2 separate regions of the Homo sapiens genome follow, and region 1 is linked to region 2. The links are contacts of gene promoters, found by promoter capture Hi-C in blood cells and fetal thymus (Javierre and others, 2016). All regions are on one chromosome and are shown on one strand. The core of a region is centred on a gene start or on the middle of the fragment in contact, and the rest is flanking DNA. Distances in the headings are between cores, read along the strand shown. Region 1 has its middle 54 kb from the start of IMPA2. Region 2 holds the start of MPPE1 (metallophosphoesterase 1).

Region 1 (6,935 bases), core at 673-3,172, 130 kb before region 2:
GAGAGTGAGGAGAAAGCTCAGGCTCCCAGGGCGGGCCCGCTTGGTCCCGGGAACTCGGGAGTCACCGCCGTCAGTGTGACCGGGTCCGAGAGCGCGGGTCGTTGGAGCGCAGTGTGGCCGCCGCGTGGGGACGTCTTGGGGGAGGTGATGGCGACGCTGGGGGCCGACCCGGGGCACCGCGTGGTCCCAGACAGCTGCGCCCATCAGGGCAGACGGGCGCCCCAGCCCCTCAGTCCAGCCCGGGCCCATCCTGCTCCGGGCTGCGGGGACTGGGGGCGGGCCGCCCGGGGGCGGCCTGGGGCCTTGGAGATGTGACCCAGGTGACACGGACTCTGGGACCACCTGCCTCTCACACCGGGGTGCCCGAGTGCCCTCATGATTTGAAGAAGAGGGAGACAGAGTCGGAGCCCAAAGCATCTAAAGGCCGCGCTGGCAGCACGCACCCACCGGGAGGAGATGACGAAGCCGCCCTCGCGTCTGAAAGCGCCTTCCTTCTACGCGTGCAGGGACGCGCCTGGCAGCGGCCCACCCTGAGGCTGCAGGACAGGAACCGGTCCCCCGGATTCCTCTTCCTCAGGAGCCCTTACAGAGTCCACACAGCCGGCTGCGAGGGAGGACAGAGCCCACTCACATCTCCACGTGTGGAGGCCGCCTGGCCTGGAAGCTCATTCCCTGCAGAAACCAGTCTCTCCAGGAGCCCCAGGGTGCCCCTAGCAGGAATCACCACACCCATAGCATAGCTCTCTTCCATTACTTAGTGATGGCGCCTCCCAAATCAGCTTCCCCCTGCCAGCCAGGAGCTGTTTTCGCCATAGGCACTATTGCCTAGTAGGCAGCTGGGACATTCCACCTTCGCCTTCTGCCAGGAGAACAGGTAGAAGGCCAACTGCATTTAGTTCAAATAATGCAAAAAGGGAAACATTGTTAAACTTTTGCATACGAATATTGATTTTATTAAAATCTGGAGATATCTTTTTTGAGACGGAGTTTCACTCTTGTTGCCCAGGCTGGAGTGCAGTGGTGTGATCTCGACTCACTGCAACCTGCGCCTCCCAGGTTCAAGCGATTCTCCTGCCTCAGCCTCCCAAGCAGTTGGTATTACACGCGTGGGCCACCATGCCCGGCTAATATTTTTGCATTTTTAGTAGAGACGGGGCTTCACCATGTTGGTCAGGCTGGTCTCAAACTCCTGACCTCAGGTGATCCACCTGCCTTGGCCTCCCAAAGTGCTGGGATTACAAGCATGAGCCACCTCACCCGGCCTAAAATCTGGAGATATCAAACCTAAATATATATTCCCTTCTTTTACAAAGTGAAAAAAAAAAACACAAAAACTAACTCTATAGAATGTGAAAACAGAGACATATCTTAATAGTAACACATGTTAAGTGCTTTGATTCAATTCCTGTTGTTGAAACCCAAAAGCAAAAAAACCCCAAAACCTTTGAGAAAGCTGCTGGTACCAAAATGGAGTCACTTACATTAAACTCCAGCAAAATGGAGTGGTGGGAGGCCATCAAGAAGCCCTCACGCCCACATGCCTGAAACAGGACTTATCCCAAGACTTTCCTGCACCCAGACCAGCATCACGACTTAGTGCAAGGACTTCTTGAGGCCGCAGTATTCCAGATCTGCCACCAGCACGCAACACTGACCTGGCAACAGCCGCCTCCCCCAATCAACAGAGCCAACTCCTGCAGTGAGCTTCTGTCACCTACGAGCCTTGTTTCAAAGCCGCTCATGTGTACATCTGTTTGTCTTTAAAAGATTCCTCTTTGGCTAGGTGCAGTGGCTCATGCCTGTAATCCCAGCACTTTGGGAGGCCAAGGCAGGCAGATCGCTTGAGGTCAGGAGTTCGAAACCAGCCTGACCAACGTGGCGAAACCCCATCTCTACTAAAAATACAAAAATTAGCCGGGTATGGTGGCGAGTGCCTGCAATCCCAGCTACTCGGGAGGCCGAGGCAGAAGACCCACTTTAACCCAGAAGGCAGAGGTTGTATTGAGCCAAGAGCAGAGCGAGACTCCATCTCAAAAAAAAATAAAAATAAAAATTTATCTTTGCCACGACATCCCTGGATATGCCCTGATCCATCATTATAGCACACACATCCTGAACTATAATCCCTTGCCTAGTCCCAAGTGAGCCCATTTGTTCTGGGTCCTATCTGAGCTTCTTTTTAGCCTGACACCTGCACAACTGCTGCGTGTGGTGACTCACAGTTACTAATATCTCAGTGAAACTCTTCTCCAAGCCAAGGGGCCCAACAGACTTGGCCCTCCGTGCACAGGCAGGCCTGATGCATGGGAGTGGCTGGGAGCCACCACCCTGTCAAAGGCGGAGACCTTGGAACCACCTGATGGCATTCCAGACTTATAGGTGGATAATTAATGACTTCACAGCATGGAAACTTCCAGTTGGCAGCAGTTGCAGGCCATTCTGACCCTTACTGAGATGGTTTTTGGGGAACGTGGTCCAGATGGTGGATGTGACACTCTCAGCCGGCACAGGTATGAGGACTGAGGCCATCCTCGGGCAGGGGCAGGAAATGGAGGATTGCCAGCTGTCTGGATCTGGGCAAGGGCTATGAGGTGGCACACCATCCAACCTGAGCAACTCTTGGCCCTACACGCCAGCTCCTTCCCCCAAGGTTGGCAGGGGATTCCCTGTCCAATGCCGTGACTTTTCTAGTGTTGGACGCACCAGACATGCCTGCAATCTACCACAAAACTAGTGACTGGTGAGACCTGGAGGTCAGAAGGTTGGAACAGGTGATTGCTAAGGGACATCCCCTTCTGAGATTCCATTATTCAGTCCGAGAAGCCCACAGGAGACACTGTCAAAACCCTCCAAATTACTTTCTGCATAGACATATCAGATCATTCTACTGGAGGGCAACCCTATAGCATGACTGACAACCATGACATTCTCACCGAATAGAGATACACCTGCCACCTGAGGGCTTCCTCTCCTCTCACTTGATGATGGTTAGAACCAGCTCTCCAGTAGAAGGACTGACACACGCAGTATCACAAGTATCCTCCCCGTGTTTCCAGCACAAAGTTTGGACTGCTCCACATGGTGCCCAAGGCCCCGAGTTGGCCTATGTGTTTAAGCATCACCTCCCCAACCCTCCAAGCAACAAGATGCCTCCTGCAGCCAAGCAGAACCACGTGTTTATCCCACTGCAGCCCTAGCCATTTCTCTCTGCCTCTACCTGAACATCCTGCTCCAGATCCTTTTCCCCACCCCCCTCACATCTCCAGCTGGCCTGCTCGGTGCTGTCACGCGGGCACTGTGAGCCTGCAGAGTCCAGGGGGTTCCTGGAGGTCAGGGCTCCTGTTTACCTATGCATCTGGTAAGACGGGACATGTGACTAGTGACAAACTGAAACCTCTGCTCCTTGTGAGATGCCACACTCTGGGAAGTTGTGTGGCTACTTCTTGCATAGGAACTTGGGCACTGGAGTCACCCCTTAGGATCTTCCCATTCCCAGAGGCCAGCGGTGTTGTTCCCCTCTTCTTCCAACTTCAGGTTCAGATTTTGGCCTCTCCATTCCAGTTTAGTGATGGTGGCCCTGCCCCACGGGCTCTGCACTCCTGGCTTTGAAGCTGCAGTTCCAGATCCTTTGCAATAGCCCCTTGCTTTTGTCCCCTACGTCTTCATCTTCCATCTGCGTCACCCATCCCACACTCACTGCTTTTGTGGGGTTTTTTGTTGTTTTTTTCTGAGACAGGGTCTCACTCTATCACCCAGGCTGGAGGGCAGTGATGCAATCTTGGTTCAGTGCAACCCCTGCCTCCTGGGTTCAAACGAGTCTCCCACCTCAGCCATGTAACTAGCTGGGATTACAGGTGCACGACACCATGCCTGGCTAGTTTTTGTATTTTTAGTAGAGACAGGGTTTCACCATGTTGGCCAGGCTGGTCTTGAACTCCAGACCTGAGGTGATCTGCTCGCCTCAGCCTCCCAATATGCTGAGATTACAGGTGCTTTTGTTTTAGATCTGCTGTGGGCTGTAGCTGACTGCAGTGACTAAATGGTAGAGAGGCCTGCCCAGGCGACCCCCAGGATGCGACATGGCTTGTGGTGTTTGGGGCATCCAGTCCTGGCACTCGGTGATGCCATCTACATGGACTTCTCATCTTCATCTTCCTCTACAGGGGCCTCTACAAGTGACTAGCTTCACTCCACCCTGAAGCCTTCACTCACACAAAGAGGAAGCAATTTGTGGGGCTGAAACTGGGAAAGGAAGTCCAGGGCAGAGAAAGAGGCAAGAAGCAGTTGGGGTGAGAAGCCCTTGACTCTGGGTCCTCTGTCCTGGCTCCTGCAGTCTTTCTGCTCTTCTTGTCCATCTGTTTGATGTGGTCACGTGCATGCACTATTTCATTTGATCCACACAGTCCTGGGAGGAGTGCAGTTTAATTCATTTTACAGAGGGGCACAGAGAGGCTAGGCCAGTACCTCAAGTTTACCCGGCTGCTGAGTGGCCCCCTGTGCTGACATGCATAGCCCCTGCATGTCCCAACATCTGCTGGGGACAAAGCGCTGGTTCAGATGGCCTGGTGCCTCCCCAGATCATCCAAGTTTTAGGCCACTGATTTGGGCCTCTGCTTATGTTTTCAAAAAGCTGCTCTATTTATACATTGCCTCCACAGAAAAAAGCAATGATGAATGTGGTTCCTACTGGGAAAGCTATAGGATGTATTTTTCCAGCCCGGAAGTCCTGGGTATGGATGATAGAACTGATTGTAAATGGCTTAATAAATCAGGCAAAGCCTGTCTAAGCTGTGGTATAATCTAAATATTTCTAGTTTTCTTGAATAACATTTGGTTATTGGAGACATCATGATCTTTTCATGCTTTAATAATATATTTAACTGTAAAAAACAAAAACAACAAAAAACCAACCACAGTTGATGTGTATGGAAAGTAAAATCTGGAGACCCCCAAACTCACTATGCCCAAGGGAAAAGGTAAGCTTGGAAGCTGAGTCAGGAGGAACACCGACCTTCCTTTTGTTCCTCAACAGAATGGCTAGAGATAGAAGGCAGTGTCTTCCCAGGTGGCCTCTCTCACCCAGACGATGTAAATTAACAGCATATCTTCCCGGTGAGGGATGAGAGGAGAGGAAAAATACCGTCTCCCCCATGTAACCCACTGTTCCGCTTCCCCCTCCTTGCCTGCAGTATGTGGATTAACGAGCTCTAATCAAGGATGAGACCATACCCTCTTTTGTTTTCTTTCCTCTTTAAATACTGAAGCGCCCAAAATCCTTTTTGGAAAAAAGTGCAGACCACAGATCCTACAGTGGCTTGTGTCCTTTTCCCAGGCACATCCTCAATCTTGGCAAAATAAATCTCAACGCTGACTGAGACTGCCTCCGTCATTCTCTGGTTTCATGGTACTCTCCTAGGTGTCGTCCTGGGACATGCTCCCAACCCTGTGAGGGAGGCAGCCAGACCCCCAGTACAGACTTCACCTGGCACCAAAAGAGAGCTGACATGGCCCTCTCAAGGCCACACAGCTACCTGAACATCAATCCGCGTCCTGACTCCTGGTCTGAGTGGTGACAGTGATGCACTAGGACAAATGTTTTACTTTTTATTTGGGATTGGATCATAAAGGCAGCAAAACATTTGATGACTCATGTCCACAAGACACTCAGTGAAAACTGTTGAAATGAAGGGAAAAAAAAATGAGGGCAAGTATCCTGAAGCCTATGAGTGGAATTCAGAATGAATGTCATCACCAGTGATAGATGAATATCATTTTGTAAGAGGTCTAAATGACATAGCAAGCAGTTTTGCTAACTCTGAGGATCACAGAGGTGAGCAGCCCATTTCGTTTCTGGGAGGCTTGTCCAGGGATGAATGAGGCAAGCCCGCAGGTCCCCACCTTGGGTGCCTCTCTTTTCTCCAAGGTTCACTCTGCTTCTCCTGAAGCCGCAGGGATGACGCTCATGCGGAATACTTGCTAAAGGCAGCCTGAGACTCCGGACAGAGCAGAAGCAGAAGCAGAAGCAGGAGTCAGCTCAAGCTCCCTCAGGGCCTCCTGCTGTCCTGACCCAAGGGCTGGGAGGGCCTTTCCTGAGGTTGGGGAGGGGAGCAGTTCTTTCTTTTTGTTTTTTTGTTTGTTTTGTTTGTTGAGACAGGGTCTCGCTCTGTCACCCAGGCTGGAGTGCAGTGGAACAATAATGGCTCACTGCAGCCTCGACCTCCTGGGTTCCAGCCATCCTCCTGCCTGAGCCTCCCAAGCAGCTAGGACTACAGGCACGCACCACCACACCTGGCTAATTAAAAACTTTTATTATAGAGACAGGGTCTCATTCTGTGGCTTAGGCTGGAAATGCAGTGGTGCAATCATAGCTCACTGTAACCTCAAACTCCTGGGCTCAAAGGATCCTCCCACTTCAACCTTCCAAGTAGCTGTGCACCACATCCATCTAGTTTTGGGTTTTTTTTTGTAGAGATGGGGTCTTGCTATGCTGCCCAGGCTGATCTGGAATGCCTGGCCTCAATCCTGCCTCAGCCTCTCAACGTGCTGCGAGAGTTATTTTGTTGAAGAAAACTTCCAGATATTATTTGACTAATAAGCACTACATCTCAAAATCCATGAGAATGTAAGAAATTTCTTGCACATCTGTATAAATACTCAGATCTGTTTTGAGTAGATTCTGAGAAAATTAAGATGGGCTAACGAAGGCCTAAAGGAATAATCAGCAATTTGGAGAAACATGAGCATATTTTAAACTCATTTAAAAAATCCAAACTATTTATTGAAAAGCTCTACTAAACAAAATTAGTTCAGACAAAGCAATAAGATGACGAATCAAGCTCTCTCCAGAGATGAAAGAAAAGCCAGTCTCAAAGATGACTATAACTAACGCTGTTGCTGGAAAGACAAGGGCACCGAGCCAGCCCTGGGAGAGGCTC
Region 2 (7,472 bases), core at 4,437-6,936:
CCCAAAATAGTTTAAAATAGATTTGAACATCATTTGTAGTTTCTTCCTCATAACATGAGCGCTTTCAGCTGGACAGTAGATTACAAAGCATCTCCGATCATGTTAAGGCAGATCATCAATCTGTGGCTGCATCTGTAACTCCTGCTGGGAAAATAATCCTGTTGGAGTTGGGGGCTCTTCCCAGTTGTTTGGCCAGTTGGCCCAGGAAGGGGCAGTCCTGGAGCTGACGGGTGGGTGAGGAGCCAGGCCCCACCTGTTTTTTGTTTTCTTACGACAGAGTCTTCCTCTGTTGCTCAGGCTGGAGTGCAGTGGCGCTATCTCGGCTCACTGTAACCTCCACCTCCTGGGTTCAAGCGATTCTCCTGCCTCAGCTTCCAGGAGAGCTGAGACTACAGGTGTGTGTCATTACACTGGGCTAATTTTTTATTACTTTTTTTAAGCAGTGATGGTGTTTTGCCATGTTGGGTTTTGAGCTCCTGACCTTAGGTGACCCATCTACCTCGGCCTCCCAAAGTATTGGGAGTTTCCAAGGCTCCCTTAGTGTAAGCCAGGATTTTTTAAATACAAGGCGGCAAAGATACCACAATGTTACCACAACACAACAATGTATATCACAACCATGTATACCACTATGTATACCACAATGTTATTCACTGTAGCTGCTCCCACAGAAAAGTAGTTTACAAGACAGTGAAGTACAATATGAAACTGAAGATGTTTAGAGAGGAAACAGTGATTTAAAGAGTGCTCTGTAGAATTAAAACCAGTTAGCCCGGCACATTGGGGAACACCTCTGGTCCCAGTTACTTAGGAGGCTAAGATGGGAGGATCACTTAAACCTCGGAGTTTGAGGCCACCCCGGGAACACAATGAAACCTTGTCTCAAGAAACAAAACCAAATACCCCAAGTAGGCCGGGTGTGGTGGCTCAAGCCTGTAATCCTAGCACTTTACGAGGCTGAGGCAGACAGATCACTTGAGGTCAGGAGTTTGTGAACAGCCTTGCCAACATGGGTAAACCCTGTCTCTAAAAAAAAAAAAAAAAAAAAAAGCCAGGTATGGTGACACACACTTGTAATCCCAGCTACCCCGGATGCTGAGGCATGAGAATCCCTTAAACCCAGGAGGTGGAGGTTGCAGTGAGCTGAGATCATGCCACTGCATTCCAGCCTGGGAGACAGAACCAGATTTGGTCTCAAAAAAAAAAAAATTGGTTAATGGCATTAAAAGTCAACTAATAAAATTAGTTAAAACTATGGACTTTAATAAATGTTATCTGTTTTAGCAATTTTTTTTTTTGAGACGGAATTTCACTCTTGTTGCCCAGGCTGGAGTGCAATGGCGCGATATCAGCTCACTGCAACCTCTGCCTCCAGAGTTCAAGTGATTCTCCTGCCTCTTCCTCTGGCTCCGGAGCAGCTAGGATTACAGGCGCCCACCACTACGCCTGGCTAATTTTTTTGTATTCTTTGTAGAGATGGGGTTTCACCATGTTGGCCAGGCTGGCCTCAAACTCCTGACCTCCAGTGATCTGCCCGCCTTGGCCTCCCAAAGTGCTAGGATTACAGGTGTGCACCACCGCGCCCGGACTGTTTTAGCAAATTTGACAAAATGTGGGTAATTTATCCATATAATAGAAAATGCCTAATATTCATTAATTGAAAATTAGAAATTACATTAAAATATTCGGTACTGTTTTTTAAACTATTCTACTTTTACATATTTGGGAAGATTATTTTCTTTAACGATTCTGTTTTATATATTTTATTAATTGTGTTATCTGTTTCCTGAAATTAATATATGCTAGAAGGAAAATTACCTTTATAAATGTCAGCATCTTAAAAGTCATGTCAATATGCAGATTTTGATAACAATCGGTATAGATAAACTAATTCTAAAGTTAGGAATGGGGCCAGGCGCGGTGGCTCAGACCTGTAATCCCAGCACTTTGGGAGGCCGAGGTGGGCGGATCACTTGAGGTTAGGAGTTCGAGACCAGCCTGGCCAACATGGCAAAACCCTGTCTCTATTAAAAATGCAAAAATTAGCTGGGTGCGGTGGCGGGTGCCTGTAATCCCGGCCACTCAGGAAGCTGAGGCAGGAGCATGGCTTGAACCCGGGAAGCAGAGGTTGCAGTGAGCCAAGATGAGCCACTGCACTCTAGTCTGGGTGACAAAGTAAGACTCTGTCTCAAAAATAAATAAATAAATAAAGTCAGGAATAGGTCATGCCATGCTTTATTATATCCGTGATGCTTTATTATATCTGTGACTTTGAAAATTAACATTATTTTACTAACCATACTCAACAATGCTTTTTAAAAAGGGATTTATGACATATAATTCTTTTGGAAATTAAAATGCATGGTATAATTCTATGGTTGGTCAGATTACACTTCAGGTGTAAATGAATTACCTTAAAAATGTATTTCTTAGGTTTATGTTTTATGGACTTAATAAATATTTTATTACAATTTTTTTTTTTTTTAGACAGAATCTCACTCCGTCACCCAGGCTGGAGTGCAGTGGCACGATCTCGGCTCACTGCAACCTCCACCTCCTGGGTTCAAGTGATTCTCCTGCCTCAGCCTCCCGAGTAGCCGGGAATACAGACGCATGCCACCGCTCCTGGCTAATTTCTGTATTTTTAGTAGAGCCGTGGTTTCACCATATTGGCCAGGCTGATCTCGAACTCCTGACATTGTGATCTGCCCTCCTTGGCCTCCCAAAGTGCTGGGATTACAGGCGTAAGCCACCGCACCCAGCAGAAAAAAATCTTAAACTTACAAAAACATAGAGAGAAATATAGCAAATGCTTGTATTAGTTTTCTATGGCTGCTGTAACAAATTACTACCACTTTGGTGACCTAAAACAACCCAAATTTACTACCGTACAAGTCCTGTAGGTCAGGAGCCCACACGGGGCTCACTGGGCTAAAACTCAGGTGATGGCAGGACACCTGAGCATCTGCAGGATCATTCATTCCTTGCCTTTTCCACCTTGAGAGGCCACCTGTGGCATTCCTGGGCTTGTGGCCCCTTCCTCCATCTCCGGAGTCAGCACCAGCGGCCACATCCTTGTCAGGTTGAATCTCTCTGAACTTCCTTCCAGTGTTACGTCTCTTTCCAATTCTCATTTGCAGGTAAAGGTTCTCGGAAGGACCCAATGAGACTGGGCTCACTGGGATAATCCAGGATCATCTCCCATCTCAAGGTTCTTCATCGCATACTTGCAAAGCCCCTTTTGCCATGTCAGGTAACTTGTTCACAGGTTTGAAGATTAGAATGTGGGCATGTTTGGGGGGCATAATTAGGCCTAGCACAATGCCCATGTACCCATCTCCTTGCTTAAACATTAAACACTTTGCCAATATTGTTTCTCCTATCTCTCACTTTGTTCTCTAAAAAACTCCAGGAATTTGTTATTAAATTTTATTAAAGCAAATCCCAGAAATAATATAATTTGCCTGTAAATATGTTAATATGTTTCTCTGAGGCCTTTAAAAATCATAGCCACTATGGTATTATCGTAATAAAATTACCTGAAGTTATTTAATGTCACCTAACATTCAGTCCATGTTTAAGTTTCCCAATTTTTTTTTTTTTTTTTGAGATGGAGTCTCACTCTGTCGCCCAGGCTGGAGTGCAGTGGCGTGATCTGGGCTCACTGCAAGCTCTGCCTCCCGGGTTCACACCATTCTCCTGCCTCAACCTCCCGAGTAGCTGGGACTACAGGCACCTGCCACTACACCCGGCTAATTTTTTTTTTTTTTTTTTTTTTTTTAGTAGAGACGGGGTTTCACCGTGTTAGCCAGGATGGTCTTGATCTCCTGACCTCCTGATCTGCCCGCCTCGGCCTCCCAAAGTGCTGGCATTACAGGCAAGAACCACCGCGCCTGGCCGCCAATGTTTTTAAAAATGCCATTTATTTATGTAAAAGTTTGTTTGTCTTAATCATGACCCAAACAAGGTCCACAAATTGCATTTGGCTAATGTGTCTCTCAAGGTCCCCCCACCCTCTTTTTTTTAAAGACATGGGGGGTCTAGCTGTGTTGCCCAGCCTGGAGTGCAGTGGCTATTCACAGCTGTGATCATAGCTCACTACAGCCTTGAACTCTGGCCTTAAGCAATCCTCCCACTTCAGCCTCTGAACATTTATTTTTGAAAAAAGAAATTGGGTCATTTGGTTTGTAGAATTTCCCACATTCTGGATTTGGCAGATTACTTCCTGGTGGTGTAATCTAATGGGTTCATTTGGCCCCTGTATTTCCTTTAGCCTGTGATTAGTGTTATAAGCTTAACTGGTTCTAGTTTCCCTTTCTTTGTTAGTCAGAGAGAATACTTTAGAGGTGAGGCTGCAAACAATCCACGGTGCCATATTAGTGTGTTTATGGAATCAGGCTGTCCCAGTTTCGATTATGTCAAAGTTGTTCACCTGATCATATCTGAAGATATTACAATATTCTTAATAATAATAACCATTTACCGCATACTTATTGTATACCAGGCATTTTGCTGGCTGTGTCCTATATAATTCCTCAAACCACATCTCCGTGTATTAACCACACTCATAGATTTGTGAAAATGTACCAGAATTGACTGGTTGGAAGGCTCTATGTGGATTATTACTCTGAGCATGTTTACTTCTTGAAATATGAAATAATGGCTCCTGCTTTTAATATACAGGCTTATTTTGAGGATTTTTTGAACGGATGTGAGAGCACTTAGAAAACTGGAACGCGCCGCGCTACACCATTAAAATTAGTAACATCAGTGAGAAAAAAGCAAGTGCATAATAAATATTATAGTTATCCTGATTGTCTCCTTTATTCATCACACACTTCCTAAGCACATCTCTGGAGGGCACTTTCCAAGGCTCCGGGGGAGGAGAGGAAAGAGGCGCAGCCAGGCCTGGTGGGTCCCGGAGGGGCAGCGCGGCGCGGGAGGGGAACGGGGAGGCACGGCCTGGCTGCCACCGCGCGCGGAACCCGGGAGCGGCTCCGGGGCTGTCAGCTGCCCGCCTGGCTCCTCCAAGGCCTGGAGCTCGGACGCGGGCTCTGGGGGCTTCTGGGGCGCGGAAGCGGGCTCGCGGGGAGCAGTGGCCGCCCCCGGCCGCCGCGGTGGCTGTGCTCAGAAGCCGGCCCTGGCGTCAGGAGGCCGGGCGCGCGGCGCGGGGCGCGAGTTCCCCTGCCCGCCTGTGCGCCCCGCAACGGGCCTTTCCTGGGCCCTAACGACAGCTCGCCCGTGCTTCGCCCTCGCAGCTCTCCTGTGTCCCCAAAATGCCTTTCCCGCGTCCCCCGCCCTTCAGCGGTGACTGCCCAGGGGACTCTGTAACGCGACACTCAGACTGCCGAGCCTGCCAGGCACTTCGCGGAGGGCGCTAGGGGCCGGGACGCGGCCGCCGAGCGTAGGTTCCGGCCTTTACTCCGAGTTGCGCACGGAGCCCCAGCTGCGGTTGTCCGCTCTGGGGATCACAGGCCGCGGAGACCCGGGAGCCACCCGCCGGGCCCCTTCAGACGACCCGCTTCCGCAAACCGGCCGTGGGACTCCGGCGCCGGGCGGACGAAGCGGCTCCGGGAAGACTCGGTCTTCCCCGCCCGCCTGAGGTCGCCGGGGCGGGGCTTCAGTGACAGGCCCGCGCGCTACCGCGGAAACAGGAAGTTGGCTGGGTGCGCGCCGGCTCCGGCTGCAGTTCCCGGGTCCCTCGGCCACCGAAGCCACCCTGCCCTGGTGAAAGGGCTCCCGCACCGCCCGGTGCTCCCCATCTGCCTGGCGTTGTGCGCAGAGCTGGAAAGCATGGCTGTTGTATGTATTCTTGCGCCCGTGTGACAACATTTAAACTTCTAAAAACGGAACCTCCTTCCGTGTTAGGATTGCAAGTTAACCTAGGAAAAACAGCATTCTGCAAATTATTTGCTGGAAAATCTCGGTGACTTAAGGCCCATGTATTACTTTGCAGGGGTCTCTCACTCTAGTTTGCTGGTGTAGATTTTTTAAAAAATCCATCTTATCAAAAAATACCGTTTAAGGTGGAAAATTTCAAATGCAAGTCGCAGTTGATGAGATTGCAATTAATATATTTAAGATAGTGAATTAGAGAAAAACTACAGGTCAGTGCATATTAAGTATTTTTTTCATATTTTGGGGGGATTAGATTTTTAACGATAACTTTGAAGTTAAAAATTAAAAGATAGGCTGGGTGCCGTTGCTTAGGCCTGTAATTCCAGCACTCTGGGACGCTGAAGTGGGAGGATGGCTTGATCCCAGAGATGCGAGACCAGCCTGGGCAACATAGCAAGTCCCCCGCCCCCACCATAACAACAAAAGTACCAAAAAAAAAAAAAAAAAAAGCCAGGTGTAGTGGCACGCACCTGAAGTCCCTGCTACTCGAGAAGTTGTGGGGGAAAGGATCGCTTCAGCGCAGGAGTTTGGGGCTGCAGCGAGCTGTGACGCAGCCTGCGGTTGACAAAAAGTCAAAACTCTATAAAATATTTGAAGGGATTAATTCTGAGCCAAATATGAGTGACCATGGCTGGTGACACAGCCATTTGGAGACCCTGAGAACGCGTACGCAAGGTGGTCGGGGCCCAGTGTGGTTTTATGCATTTTAGGGGAGCCATGAGTCATCAGTCAAATACATGTAAGATTAAGATGTACATTGGTTCGGTCCATAAAGGTATGACAGCTGAGGAGGTGGGTGGGTCGGGGGTTTCCGGGTTATAGGTAGATTGAAAATTTTCTGATTGGCATTTGGTTGAAAGATTTATTATCAATGGAAAGGAATGTTTGGGTTACAATAAGAGGCTGTGGAGACTGAAGTTTTATCATGCAGATGAAGCCTCCAGGTAAGTTAAGTGTCCAGCATGTTAAATGCTGGTCTGCTTTTCCTGAATTCTAAAAGGGAGGAGGATGAAATGTGTCAAGTTCCACCCCCACTTCCCATCATGGCCTAAACAAGTTTTGCTTAAAACAACCTAAAACAAGGTTAACTCTGGAATGCCCTTGGTGGGGTCCATGCAGATGGTTGAGGGGTCTTAGGATTTCATTTTTGATTTACAATGGGCGGTGGAGTGAGACCCTATCTCTAAAAATAAATAAATAAATAAATACAAATTGAAAAGTTCAAAGATAAATTTTTTTTTTTTTTTTTTGAGACGGAGTTTCGCTCTTGTTGCCCAGGCTGGAGTGCAATGGCGCGATCTCGGCTCACTACAACCTCCGCCTCCCGCATTCAAGCGATTCTCCTGCCTCAGCCTCCCGAGTAGCTGGGATTACAGGCATGTGCCACTACCCTGGCTGATTTTGTATTTTTAGTAGAGACGGGGTTTCTCCATGTTGGTCAGGCTGGTCTTGAACTCCCGACCTCAGGTGATCACCCACCTCGGCCTCTCAAAGTGCTGGGATTACAGGCATGAGCCACTGCGCCCAGCCTAAAGATAAAATATTTGGCTCCCAATTATGGCTTGCAGTGATTA

The links. Contacts are between HindIII fragments. The CHiCAGO score rates a contact against its expected background, and 5 or more counts as called.
Region 1: a fragment that was not itself captured here is called in contact with the fragment with the promoter of MPPE1 in region 2 in 16 of 17 cell types (total B cells, monocytes, naive CD8 T cells and 13 more); the score reaches 8.3 in total B cells.

What each region holds. Positions count from the first base shown.
Region 1 is chr18:12,032,003-12,038,937 of GRCh38, reverse strand. No RefSeq gene overlaps it. Among named protein-coding and RNA genes, the nearest start is that of IMPA2, 54 kb to the right of the region's middle. RefSeq lists a silencer at 222-291 and an enhancer at 239-740. The HindIII fragment of the contact is 6,123 bases long and covers 1-4,983 here.
Region 2 is chr18:11,906,531-11,914,002 of GRCh38, reverse strand. It overlaps MPPE1 (metallophosphoesterase 1), which reads left to right and starts at 5,686. Exons shown (of 11, transcript NM_023075.6): 1 at 5,686-5,802. LOC101927511 (a long non-coding RNA gene) reads left to right here. Exons shown (of 4, transcript XR_007066296.1): 4 at 3,141-3,454. RefSeq lists a silencer at 4,894-5,293. The HindIII fragment of the contact is 5,797 bases long and covers 4,296-7,472 here.